Regions from separate parts of the Homo sapiens genome. Here region 2 is linked to region 1. The links are contacts of gene promoters, found by promoter capture Hi-C in blood cells and fetal thymus (Javierre and others, 2016). All regions are on one chromosome and are shown on one strand. The core of a region is centred on a gene start or on the middle of the fragment in contact, and the rest is flanking DNA. Distances in the headings are between cores, read along the strand shown.

Region 1 (6,849 bases), core at 2,879-5,378:
CACCACCATGCCCAGCTAATTTTTGTGGTTTGTTTTTAGTAGAGACGAGGTCTCAGTGTGTTACCCAGGCTAGTCTGGAACGCCTTGGTTCAAATGATCCTCCTGTCTTAGCCTCCTAGAGTGCTGGGATTACATGTGCAAGCCACTACACCCAGCCCCAATGTTCCTTTCTTATAACAAATATTTTGCAACACTAATATCCCAAAGTGAAATGGACAGATAACATAACCTGCCTGGACACATGATTTCAAAAAACAAATCAACTGTGGGTCATAATTCAGTTTACCTAGTCCACTTGGCCTTTGATGCTTAGAGGGCAGTTCCTACCTTTGAAGTGACTTTTTCCTCTAGGTCCTGGGTGGGATGGAAGTTTACTACAGAAGCTATCTCTGGTATGGGAGAGCAACTTTCATATGGAGCTGGCAGCATTTGTTGGGTTTCACAAATCCATACACGGGAGGCATAGATATCATAGTACATCTTTTTTTTTTTTTTTTTTTTTTTTTTGGTCTTGCTCTATTGCCCAGGCTGGAGTGCAATGGCACAATCGTGGCTCACTGCAGCTTTGACCACCTGGGCTCAATCAATCCACCCACCTCAGCCTCTCAAGTAGCTGAAACCACAAGCATGCACCACCACACCTAGCTAATTTATTTTTGTAGAGATAGGGTCATTGAATTCCTGGGCTCAAGTGATCCCGCTGTCTGGGCTTCCCAAAGTGCTGGGATTACAGGCTTGAGCTGCTGTGCCCAACTATTGTACATCTTATAAAGACAGATGGGACTTCCCCCATATCTTGGTGCTGGTGCCACAGCCAGAGGACTGTGACTTTTCTGAGCCCCGTCCCTAATTCCTTTTTTTTTTTTAGACTGAGTCTCACTCTGTCGCCCAGGCTGGAGTGCAGTGGCACGATCTCGGCTCACCACAACCTCCACCTCCCGGGTTTAAGCGATTCTCCTGCCTCAGCCTCCCAAGTAGCTGGGGTTTACAGGCGCCCGCCACCATGCCCCACTACTTTTTTTCTGTATTTTTAGTAGAGATGGGGTTTCACCATGTTGGCCAGGCTGGTCTCAAATTCCTGGCCTCAGGTGATTGGCTCAGCTTGGCCTCCCAAAGTTCTGGGATTACAGGCGTGAGCCACCACGCTGGGCCCCTAATTCCTCTTTAAATCATGTCAGTTTGCTTCTCTTCCCCACAATGTGATGGGTGACTGTAGGCCTGATCTCCTGGGGTTATGAAAAAATGCCATCCAGCCTTGGGGGTGGGTTACTGGCAGGAGGTTTGAGTGTTGGATGCTTCCCCTTTACCCTTGCCTCTTGCTTCCCTAGTCCTTCAGTTAGACCCTATTGCTCTCTCTGTTGCCCTGGTAACCAGCTCTGCAAGAAGAAACTCAAGCTCAGCAAAGCCCCCAGGTTCTCTCTATCCTCCCAGCCTGCCTCTGGGTGGGCAGAAAGAAGAGGGTGTGTAAGCAGCAGACAGATAGCCTGAGGTGGCCCTGCCCAGTCCCCTTGTAGAAGCCCATGGGCTCAAAAAAAGCTCAAAGCTTTTTCGCCCCCATCTCATAGTTGTTATTCATACCACCCTGCCTTCCTCTTTATTTCTTCCATAAGCGGGTGCAAATGCTCTGCCAGCTCTCTTCCCCTTCAGGGTCAGCGCACAGACCTGCTACCTTGTAGGCAACTCGGAGCACCAAAGACTTGGAATTCCAAAGTCAGCTCCCAGCATCTGCAGCCCACTTGGGTTGACTGTCCGTCTAGGGCAGTGATTTTCAATCCTGGCCATTTGTGTCATGTGAGGAGCTTTTTAAAAAATACCATAAGCCTTCGCCCTGGTTCAGAAATCTGATTTAATTGGTCTGAGATATGGCCTAGGCATCAGTTTTTTTTTTGTTTGTTTGTTTTTTTTTTTTTTGAGACAGTCTTGCTCTTGTTGCCCAGGCTGGAGTGCAGTGGCATGATCTCGGCTCACTGCAGCCTCCACCTCCCGGGTTCAAGCGATTCTCCTGCCTCAGCCTCCTGAGTAGCTGAGATTACAGGCACCAGCCACCATGCCCAGCAAATGTTTGTATTTTTAGTAGAGACAGGGTTTCACTATGTTGGCCAGACTGGTCTCGAACTTCTGACCTCATGTTGCACCCTTCTCGGCCTCCCAAAGTACCGGGATTATAGGCGTGAGCTGTTGCACTTGGCCAGTATTTTTTTTTTTTTTTTAATATGGAGTCTCTCACCCAGGCTGGAGTGCAGTGGCATGATAACAGCTCACTGCAACCTTCACCTCCCAGGTTCAAGCAATCCTTCTACCTCAGCCTCCAAAGTAGCTTGGATTACAGGTGTGTGCCACCATGCCCGGCTAATTTTTTTTGTATTTTTAGAAGTGGGGTTTCACCATGTTGGTCAGGCTGGTCTTGAACTCATGACCTCAAGTGATCTGCCCGCCTTGGCTTCCCAAAGTGTTGAGATTACAGGCGTGAGCCACCAAGCCCAGCCAGCATCAGTATTTCTGAGAAGCTTCCCTGTGATTCCAGTGTGTAGTCAGGGTGAAAACCACTGCCACTCCAGGAGGACCATGACTTGATGCTGGCTCTCCTCACTGATTCAAAATGTTGAACTTAGTCTCTGCCTGACATCCTTGAGCATTTGGGGGAGTACTGGGGTCCTGTGTCCCAAGCTTCTAGCTTCCAGAAGTCTCTCAGTCTGTTTTATTTTCAACCCCCTACACCCTTCACACTCCCCAATTCGCCCTTCCTAACCAACAATTCCCAAATCCTGCCCAGAGAGAAGGTTACCAAGGCAACCGGCTTAATCTGGTAACTGTGGCATGTGCTGGGAGAGAAGCCCTTCCCTCTTCCTATTCAGTTCATAAAATGCTACCTGGGGAGCTCCAACCCATTCCAGCCACTTTCCCCTTTCAAGCCAGGGGATATTGGAGTGTCCAATAAGGGGAGCACAGGAAGCTGATACTCAGACCTCTAATACAGCTTCTTAGCCAAAATTGTGCGCTGTCTTCTTTTTACTGTTTCCAAATCCACAAACAGATGGGTGTGCAAAGCTTTATTTCTGTGAACACATGCTCTAGCACACATGGGAACAGATATGCACATACATTGATACGTATGTCATACACACCCTGTTCAGTTTTACTACCACTCCCAGCCATTAGCATTCCTGTCTCTGCCTGGTTGGTGCTCGGTAAACAGGGGTGGGGCATTGTCCAGAGAGCCTCAACCCATCGAGAACCTGCTGCCACTCCCACACCTTGTAAGTCTAACCTGGATGTTCTCACACTTAGCATGGCTTTACGATGCACCCCCCTCCTCCCCCACACTCCTTCTGGGGCAGCATATCCTTAAGGACAGAATGCTCCTGGTGTGGGCATCAGGAGTAAGGATTACTTGGAGTGCTAATTGGCACCACTTTTCCCACTCCATGGCCATGTACACTTGGGCTCTGTGCTTGATGATAGTCGGCAGTTCTGGGGCTTGTCACCTGTCTCCATGGCCCTGCTTCCTTCTGCTGCCAGCTGGGCTCAGGTGCCCTTGTGCTCCTGGTCTCCTCCCCACTGCCTATTATCCCCTCCTCACCCCAGCTAGACCTGCCACAACCTGCTGCTCCCTGCCTGGCTCCTACCTGCCTGCCAGTACCTGCCCACAGACCAGGCCCACACCACCTATTGTGCCCTACCAGAGAGGACAGATGGGCACCGCCTCCAGTGGCAATGCTAATTCACCCAAGAGGCCTTCCCAGCTCTTCTCACAGAAGGAAGATAAACTCCACATATTTCTGTGAGTATGAGAAAGGTGCACACTCTTGGGTTCAGCAATCTGTAGGCCTGACTTGGGTACACAGGTAGGTGAGTGAAGGTGTCCAGGCCACAGACCTGTCCTGACTCTTTGAAATGATGCTGAGACCCGGTTATCCCTTGAGCCAGGAATCCTTCCCCATTGGTAAATCTCTGACTTACCTTTGCCCTTAATTTCTTCTGCTTAGAACCCAAGTCCCTTACTGTTTCCCTCGCGGTCAACCCCAGCGCGCGAGTTCAAGCCTCGTGCGGCGCGGGGGCGAGCCGAGGAAGGGTAGGGGCGGGGACTGGGCGGGGACTGGAGGAGGGGGCGCGGTCTCGGTTCTGCCACCTTCCCCCTCTTCACGGCCAGGAGCGCAGCCGCCGCCGCCGCCGCCGCCGCGTCCTCTCAGCCTTGCGCTCCGCCCGCTGCCTCTGCCGCCGCAGCGCAGAGCCGGGCGCACCGGCCCCGCAGCCTGCCCACTCTTCGGGCCGCGTGCCGGCTGCAGCCGGCATGGGGGGTTGCTGAGAGCGAGCACTCCTTTCCTCTGGCACCTCCCCCGGCTACTGGCCACTGGACTCTGGCCAGCGAGGCTCGGCCCCTCTGGCCCCCAGTCTGGCGCCTGGCACGGCCCTCTACTCTGCTCCTCCAGCTCTGAGCATCGTGTCTTCGCCGCCCCCCCCGCCCGCGCCTGGGATACCTGGGTCCCCCGGCGACCCCTAGGAGAGGGGCGGGGGGGGGCATGAAGCCGCTGGAGAAATTTCTGAAGAAGCAGACGTCGCAGCTGGCGGGCCGAACGGTGGCGGGAGGTCCCGGCGGGGGTCTGGGGAGCTGCGGTGGGCCTGGAGGGGGTGGGGGACCCGGCGGGGGCGGCGGTCCAGCCGGGGGACAGCGGTCGTTGCAGCGGCGTCAGAGCGTGTCTCGCCTGCTGCTCCCCGCTTTCCTCCGGGAGCCCCCCGCCGAGCCGGGGCTGGAGCCGCCCCCTGAGGAGGAAGGAGGAGAGCCGGCGGGGGTCGCGGAGGAGCCGGGCAGCGGGGGGCCCTGCTGGCTGCAGCTGGAGGAGGTGCCGGGGCCCGGGCCTCTCGGGGGAGGGGGGCCCCTGCGCTCCCCTTCCTCCTACTCATCTGACGAGCTGTCCCCAGGCGAGCCCTTGACTTCGCCGCCCTGGGCCCCTCTGGGCGCCCCCGAGCGGCCCGAGCATCTTCTGAACCGGGTTCTGGAGCGGCTTGCTGGAGGGGCTACCAGGGACAGCGCCGCCTCAGGTAAGGAGCCGGTGGGCTCGAACACCCAGAGCAGGGGCTGGCCCCGGCTCCTCTTCCTTGCCCTTGGAGCGTAGGGGTGGCGCCGTGCCGGGGCTTGGTTATAGGGTTGAGTGGTCCGCGGAAGCCGGCTAGGGGCCTAGCGGAGGTACAGACCCTCCCGCGGAAGAGGAGAGCAGTACTCACCTTCCTCCCTACAGCAGCCTCACCCTCGTCTGGAGAAGCAGCTGAGCCTCTTACTCTCCTTCAGCCACCCTTCCTTTCCCCTGGGCATTGGAGCCACTGACTCCCATGGGTCCCTGATGTTGAATACCTCCTCCTGTGGCCCCAAATTAGGGCCTGACACATTAAAATGGGAGCTGCCCAGCGCAGCCATGCCACCCGCCAGAGGTGCTTTAGCCCTGAAAACCCTGGGGTCCCTGACTGTTCAGAGGCCTACACAGCGCAGGCTGACCCACCCAGGGAGGCAGTGCCAGACAGGCACAGGCCCCAAGCTGCCTTTTAGGCATCAGCAAAGGGATGCGTTGTCCTTAGCAGTTTGGTGGGGGGGATAGTATTCTCCTTGGGCTGGACTCAGAAGGTGTCTGGGAGGGGAGAGGTGGCTGGGCCGGCATCATGGCCCTGCAGCATCCAGGGTGTCCAAGCGCCTCCAGCTTCCACCCTTCGGTGGCAGGCCTCAGCACCCGGCTTTTTTTTTTTTTTCTTTTGGAGATGTAGTCTCACTGTCACCCAGGCTGGAGTGCAGTGGCGCCATCTCAGCTCACTGCAACCTCCACCGCCCAGGTTCAAGCGATTCTCCTGCCTCAGCCTCCTGAGTAGCTGGGACTACAGGCATGTGGCACCACGCCTGGCTAATTTTTGTATTTTTAGTAGAGACAGGGGTTTCACCGTGTTAGCCAGGATGGTCTCGAACTCCTGACCTCGTGATCCACCTGCCTTGGCCTCCCAAAGTGCTGGGATTACAGGCGTGAGCCACTGGCCTGGCTAATTTTTGTAGTTTTAGTAGAGACGGGGTTTCGGGGTTTCACCAACTTGGTCAGGCTGGTCTTGAACTCCTGACCTCGTTATCTACCTCCCCCCACCCCCACCCCACGGCCTCCCAAAGTGCTGGGATTACAGGCGTGAGCCACCGGACCTGGCACACGGCCTCTTTAAAATATAATCACCACACCCTGAGAAGCTTATTCCCTAAATGATGATACTATTTCACCACTCCCTTTCAGCACCCCTACTAAGGGGCCTTTGAGGAAACCAAGGCCCCAAATCTGGTTAGTTCTGAGGTAGAAGACCGAGGGTTCTTTAGGTCTAGCTCTAGGCATTACTCTAAGCCCAGGAGGGTCTGAGGTTTGGGAGCCCCGGCTGAGGCCCTAATGGTGAGGGCTTTCACACTTGCTCTCAGCCCTCGGCAGGGAACCCCAACCTAGATGTGTGGAGGGGGGCTCCACTCTCCTAGATCCTTCTCAAGACCTGGGTCCTCTCCTTTGGAGCAGGCTGTAGTTGCCCTGGGGAGCTGACACCTTTTGGATTTAATTAGAAAAATATCAGACACACACAGCTCTCCTAACCATAACTTCCCGCCTACACCACACACCCTGTGTCTCTATGACACATTCCCTAGGGAGGCTGTACATTGGCCCAGAGCCTGCTTTGGAAAAGACAGATGCCCAACTGTGGCCCCCATATCAGCATCTCCCCAACTCTGCCCCATCTTACTCTTCCTTTGCTCCAGCTTAGGAATCCTGTGAGATAAAGTCTATGAAGGATGTCAGGCCTCTCGTTTCCTCACCCTCATCCCTGAAGCTGGGGGTCAGA
Region 2 (6,849 bases), core at 1,480-3,979, 87 kb after region 1:
AGGCTGGAGTGCAGTGGCACGGTTTCAGCTCACTTACTGCAACCTCCGCCTCCCAGGTTCAGGTGGTTCTTATGCCTCAGCCTGCCAAGTAGTTGGGATTATAGGCACGTGCCACCACGCCTGGCTAATTTTTTGTATTTTTAGTAGAGACGGGGTTTCACCATGTTGGCCAGGCTGGTCTTGACCTCCTGACCTCAGGTGATCCACCTGCTCAGCCTCTCAAAGTGCTGGGATTACAGGCATGAGCCACTGTGCCTGGCCCCCCAAACATTTATTTAACCCCCTTATCCCTTTGCCCTGAATAAAGGAAGATCGGCCACTTGTTGTTGTTGTTTTTTTTTTTTGGTTTTTTTTGTTTTTTTTTTTTGGAGACAGAATCTCACTCTGTCACCCAGGCTGGAGTGCAGTGGCGCGATCTTGGCTCACTGCAAGCTCCACCTTCTGGGTTCATGCCATTCTCCTGCCTCAGCCTCCCGAGTAGCTGGGACTACAGGCACCTGCCACCGCACCCGGCTAATTTTTTGTATTTTTAGTAGAGATGGGGTTTCACTGTGGTCTCCATCTCCTGACCTCATGATCCGCCCGCCTCCGCCTCCGCCTCCCAAAGTGCTGGGATTACAGGCGTGAGCCACCACGCCTGGCTTCACTCGTTCTTTCTCTTTCATCACAACAGAGTTTCATCCCTACACAAAGCTGTGGAGCAGAGAGGCCTAGCTTTCCTTTCTTTTCTTTTCTTTTCTCTTTTTTTTTTTTTTTTTGAAACAGGGTCTTGCTCTGTCTGTTGCTCAGGCTGGAGTGCAGTGGTACGATCACAGTTCACTGCAGCCTCGACCTCCCAGGCTCAATCGAGCCTCCCATCTCAGCCTCCCGAGTAGCTGGGACTATATAGGCATGCATCACCATGCCTGGGTAATTTTTGAAATTTTTTGTAGAGTCAGGTCCTACTATATTGCCTAGGCTGCTCTCGAACTCCTGAGCTTAAGTGATCCTCCCATCTTGGCCTCCCAAAATGCTGGGATTAGCAGCATGAGCCACTGTACCAGGCCTGCTTTTTTAAATAGAAGGGCAAAAACAAGACTGGTTTGTTTGCAAGCGATAGCCCAGATAGAGGAGTGGTTTCCCCTCATGATTTACTTGGTCACCAGCTGAGAGCATGTGAAATGAAAACCCTACTGGTATGCTTTCCAGAGCCGAAAGGAAGCAGTGGTGGCTATGGCTCTGGAGGAGCTGCCCTGCAGCCCAAGGGAGGTCTCTTCCAAGGAGGAGTGCTGAAGCTTCGACCTGTGGGAGCCAAGGATGGTTCAGGTATCTGATGAGTACTTTCCCAGGGTATTTCCCTGGTGTGTTAATTTCTGATGTCCCAAGTGGGCCATCTCAGGTTGAGGAGTATGGTAGAGGTGGGGGGAAGAAAGACTTGGGAGTAGGGGAGGAGTTATAGAATAGAATACAGCAAAAGCTGAGGGATTAAATGAAAGTGGATGCAACTTGGATAAAGAAAATGTGGCATATATACCCTAGAATACTATTCAGCCTTAGGCAAGAAGGAAACTTCTGTCATTTCTGATAATATGGATGAACTTGGAGGACATTATACTAAGTGAAATAAGCCAGGCACAAAAACACAAATACTGCATGATCTCATTTATATGTGGGATCTGAAACAGTTGAACTCACTCGTAGAAGTAGAGAGTGAAATGTTGGTTACTAGAGGCTGGGGGCAGTAGGCGTTGGGATTGGGAAAGGGGAGATGTTGGTCAAAGGGTACAAAGTTTCAGTTAGACAGGAGGGGTAAGTTTTAGTGATCTATTGCAGCAGTCCCCAGTTTTTTTGGCACCAGGGACTGGTTTCATGGAAGACAATTTTTCCATAGATGGTGGGCGGGGGATGGTTTCAGGATGAAACTGTTCCACCTTAGATCATCAGGCATTAGTTAGAGTCTCATAAGGGGCATGCAACCTAGATCCCTCACATGCACGGTTCACAATGGGGTTCGCCCTCCTATGAGAATCTAATGCTGCTGCTGGTCTGACAGTAGGCGTTGCTCAGGCAGTAATGCTTGCTCGCTCACCTTCTGTGTGCCCTGTTCCTAACAGGCCACTGACCTGTACAGGTGCATGGCCCCAGGGGTTGGCGACCCCTTATTATACTTAATGTATATTTCAAAATTGCTAAAAGAGTATATTTTATTTTATTTTATTTTATTTATTCGTCCCCCCCCCCCCCGCAAATGGAGTCTTGCTCTGTCGCCCAGGCTGGAGTGCAGTGGTGCCATCTTGGCTCACTGCAACTTCCGCCTCCTGGGTTCAAGCCATTCTCCTGCCTCAGCCTCCCAAGTAGCTGGGATTACAGGCACAGGCCACCACACCTGGCTAATTTTTGTAGTTTTAGTAGAGACGGGGTTTCACCATGTTGGCCAGGCTGGTCTCAAACTTCTGACCTCAAGTGATCTGTCCACCTTGGCCTCCCAAAGTGCTGGGATTACAGGCATGAGCCACTGCGCCTGTTGTAGAGTAGATTTTAAGTGTTTTCACCATTAAAAAAAATATGTGAGGTGATGGATATGTTAGTTTGATTTAATCATTCCACAACGTATACATATAACGAGACATTGTACCCCATAAATACATAAAATTATTACTTGTCAAAAATAAAGTAACATTTAAAATAAATAACAGTGTATCCTGAGCCTGAAACCGTATTAAAACCCAGAACTAGGCCGGACGTGGTGGCTCACGCCTGTAATCCCATCACTTTGGGAAGCCGAGGTGGGCAGATCACCTGAGGTTGGGATTTCGAGACCAGCCTGTCCAACGTGGTGAAACCCCATCTCTACTAAAAATACAAAAATCAGCCAGGTGTGGTGGCGCACACCTGTAATCCCAGCTACTCGGGAGGCTGAGGCAGGAGAATCACTTGAACCCAGAGGTTGCAGTGAGCTGAGATTGCACCATTGCACTCCAGCCTAGGCAACAACAGCGAAACTTCGTCTCAAAAAAAAAAAAAAAAAAAAAAAAAAAGAAAAACAAAAAACCCAGAATTATTCAATTCCTTTCCCTGCTGCCATGCAGGTTGCACTAAGGAGCCGAGTGAAGTAGGGATACTGACCAATATCTGTCCAGCTCTGTTGACCCTGTGTTGTCTATGTATTTGTAGAGAACCTAGCTGGTAAGCCAGCCCTGCAAATCCCCAGTTCTCGAGCTGCTGCCCCAAGGCCTCCAGTATCTGCCGCCAGCGGGCGTCCTCAGGATGATACAGACAGCAGCCGGGCCTCACTCCCAGAACTGCCCCGGATGCAGAGACCCTCTTTACCGGACCTCTCTCGGCCTAATACCACCAGCAGTACGGGCATGAAGCACAGCTCCTCTGCCCCTCCCCCACCACCCCCAGGGCGGCGTGCCAACGCACCCCCCACACCTCTGCCTATGCACAGCAGCAAAGCCCCCGCCTACAACAGAGAGAAACCCTTGCCACCGACGCCTGGACAAAGGCTTCACCCTGGTCGAGAGGGACCTCCTGCTCCACCCCCAGTCAAACCACCTCCTTCCCCTGTGAATATCAGAACAGGACCAAGTGGCCAGTCTCTGGCTCCTCCTCCTCCGCCTTACCGCCAGCCTCCTGGGGTCCCCAATGGACCCTCTAGCCCCACTAATGAGTCAGCCCCTGAGCTGCCACAGAGACACAATTCTTTGCATAGGAAGACACCAGGGCCTGTCAGAGGCCTAGCACCTCCTCCACCCACCTCGGCCTCCCCATCTTTACTGAGTAATAGGCCACCTCCCCCAGCCCGAGACCCTCCCAGTCGGGGAGCAGGTAAGTGCTTGGAAGCACCTTTTTCCCTATCATGCTGTGAGTTGATTTTATCTTTCCCCAGAGCACTCCTTGAAGACAGTAATTCGTTTATTCACTCAGTGGGTTTATTGAGTACCTTTTTATGTGTCAGGTCTGTTGGTAGGGAAATAGCAATAAATAGAAAAGACAAAAAAATTTGACAGTCAAACTAGTAAAATATATAAATACATAGTATGCAGTATGCTTTAGAGAATTACAAAGCAGAGGAGAGGAATAAGATATACTGGGGCGGAGGTCGGGATGATGATATCTTTAATTGGAGGAGTGGGGAGAGAGTCAGGACAGTCCTTACTGATACGGTGAAAATTTGACAAAGACCTTAAGAAAGTGACGAGTAAGCTTAGTAGTTATCTAGGAGAACAGCTGTTGCAGGCAGTGGGAACAACAAATGCAGAGGCCATAAGGCAGAAGTATTCTTGAAACATTTTGGGGACAGCAAGGGGGCCATTGTGGCAAGACTACAAAGAGTGAGGGGAGGGAAGAGTGGTAGGACTTGGAGGTTGGAAAGCTGGAGCTGCAGGGGAGAGCGCACTGCAGGATTTTGCAAAGACCTTGGATTTAACTGTGTGAGATGGGAAGCCACTGGAGGGTTTTAAACAGAGAAGTAGTATGATTTGATTCACCTTTTAAAAAGATCATTAACTCCTATGTTGAGAACAGACCGCAGGAGGACAAAGGTGACAAAAGGAGACCAGTTACTGGGCTGTTGCAGTAAACGGCCAGATGGTTAGGACTACTGTGAATTTGTGGGAAGATAGGTGTTCAGTTTGAGACAAGTTTGAGATGCCTGTTAGGTAATCAAGAAGAGACAATGAATTGGTAATTGGCTATCAGACTCCAAAGTTGAGGGGAGAGGTTTCGGCTAGAGAGATACATTTGAATGGTGTTGAAAACCACATGCTGGATGAAGTCACCTAAGGAGTGAATATAGATAAGAAGAGGCCTAGGAGGCTGAGGCAGGAGAATCGCTTGAACTCAGGAGGCAGAGGTTGCAGTGAGCCGAGATCACGCCACTGCACTCCAGCCTGGGCGACAGAGTGACAGTCCATCTCAAAAAAAAAAAAAAAAAAAATGAGGGCTGAGCCCTCGCCCTCCTACATTAGAGGCAAAAGAGATGAAGAATACCCAGCAGAGGAAACAGAAAAGCTTCTAGTGAGGATGGAAGGAGAAAAACCAAGAATGTGATGGAAAAACTCCAAGGTAGAGTAAGTGGTCAGCTGTGCCCAGTGCTGCAGATGGGTCAGGTAAGTTAAAGACCAAGAACTGGCATTGGTCTTAGTATCATGGGACCCTTTTGAGTAGTTTCAGTGGAGTGGTGGAGGGTGAAAGTGAAAGCTTAATTGGAGTGGGTTCAAGAATGCAGGAATAGGAGGAGAGAAATTGGAGATAGCAATATAGAAATCTCTTAAAGAGTTCGCTGTAAAGTCCAGGAGAGAGGGGTGAAGATAAGTGAAGTGATTGTTGGACGAAGATGTGGGGTTGAGAGTTGTTTTTTTCCCATCCCAAGATGGGAGACCTATTTGTATGCTGATGGAATGAGTAGCATGAAACTTAGGAGAGAGGGAAAAAATTGAATCAGAAGAGAGGGAACAGATTGCCTGAATAATGACCTGGAGGAGGCCAGAGAAAAGAGAATGTGATCGATAGATAAAAAGGGTTGGCCTTAGATAGGAACATAGTTCTTCCATAGTAACAAGAGGGGAGGCAGAGCATATAGGCTTAGAAGCAAGTGGGTAGGTGGGTGTAGTGGTAGAAGCATGTGGAAAGTTTATTCTAATTTGCTTCTGTTTTCTCAGTGAAATGGAAAGCAAGAGCATCAGCTGTGATTGAGGCGAGGGAAGGAGAAGGAGAGTTGAGGAGAGAGAAGAGGCATGAAATGGTCATCTGGAGCGTGGGAGTGTGGGTGGACTAGGGAAGTGTGCTCAGATAGGCAACCACGCGAAGGGCCCACTTGAGATTATGGGCCATACATTTCATGTGAGATTAATTAGTCTCATGTGTTCAGTTGTGATTTGCAGGTACAGAAAAAGAGTAGAGCTGTGTTTAACCAGCGTTAGCATGTTTTAGGCATGTGCGACTCTAAGGGAGAGTGGGGCAGGAAGGGAAGGGTGTATGTGAGGGAGTGATTGCAATAATGGAGCCTAAGCTGGGTGAGGAGGGAATTTAGGAACCCTGGAAAAAGAAGAGGTTGTGTAATCTCGTTATAATTAGCATAACTGAAATTTTAGAGTGAGGGAGACCGTGACAGCTCTCTGGGGCCTTATTGGACATGGGAATTTTGGCTCCCATATCGTTGTATCATTAGACTTTGAGACATACCCTCCACAAACAGCTTCTTGGCCTTTATTTATTTATTTGTTTGTTTGTGTTTTGAGACAGAGCCTTGCTCTTTCGCCCAGGCTGGAGTGCAGTGGTGCAATCTCTGCTCATTGCAACCTCTTCCTCCCAGGTTCAAGTGATTGTTGTGTCTCAGCCTCCTGACTAGCTGGAATTACAGGCATGTGCCACCATATCTGGCTAATTTTTGTATTTTTAGTAGAAACGGGTTTTCGCCGTGTTGGCCAGGCTGGTCTCAAACTCCTGACCTCAAGTGAGCCACTGCGCCCAGCCCTTAGCTTTTATTTTAAAGTCAGTTTCTACAGGTATAGAACATTGATTAAGGAGTTATGTCATGGAGTCTGGGCATGATGGCTCACGCCTTAATCCCAGCACTTTGGAAGGTTGAGGCCAGCAGATCATTTAAGCCCAGGAGTTCGAGACCAGCCTGGGCAACATGGCAAAACCCTGTCTCTACAAAAAATAATTTTAAAAAATTAGCCTGGCATGGCGGTGCATGCCTGTAGTCCCAGCTACTTGAGTGGCTGAGGTGGGAAGACCACTTGAGCCTGGGAGGTGGAGGCTGCAGTGAGCTGTATTAGTGCCACTGCACTTCAGCCTGGGCAACACAGCAAGACGTTGTCCCAAAAAAAGGGTAAAGGTTATATCATTAAGTAGCAAGGC

What was found. Contacts are between HindIII fragments. The CHiCAGO score rates a contact against its expected background, and 5 or more counts as called.
Region 2: a fragment that was not itself captured here is called in contact with the fragment with the promoter of RAPGEFL1 in region 1 in 1 of 17 cell types (erythroblasts); the score reaches 5.3 in erythroblasts.

What each region holds. Positions count from the first base shown.
Region 1 is chr17:40,173,342-40,180,190 of GRCh38, forward strand. RAPGEFL1 (Rap guanine nucleotide exchange factor like 1) reads left to right here and starts at 4,129. Exons shown (of 15, transcript NM_016339.6): 1 at 4,129-5,040. The coding sequence starts at 4,521. RefSeq lists enhancers at 3,008-3,508, 3,509-4,009, 4,401-5,257, 5,258-6,112 and a silencer at 4,041-4,170. The HindIII fragment of the contact is 3,169 bases long and covers 3,047-6,215 here.
Region 2 is chr17:40,261,337-40,268,185 of GRCh38, forward strand. It overlaps WIPF2 (WAS/WASL interacting protein family member 2), which reads left to right. Exons shown (of 8, transcript NM_133264.5): 4 at 1,189-1,305; 5 at 3,154-3,810. Among named protein-coding and RNA genes, the nearest start is that of CDC6, 23 kb to the right of the region's middle. The HindIII fragment of the contact is 2,914 bases long and covers 1,273-4,186 here.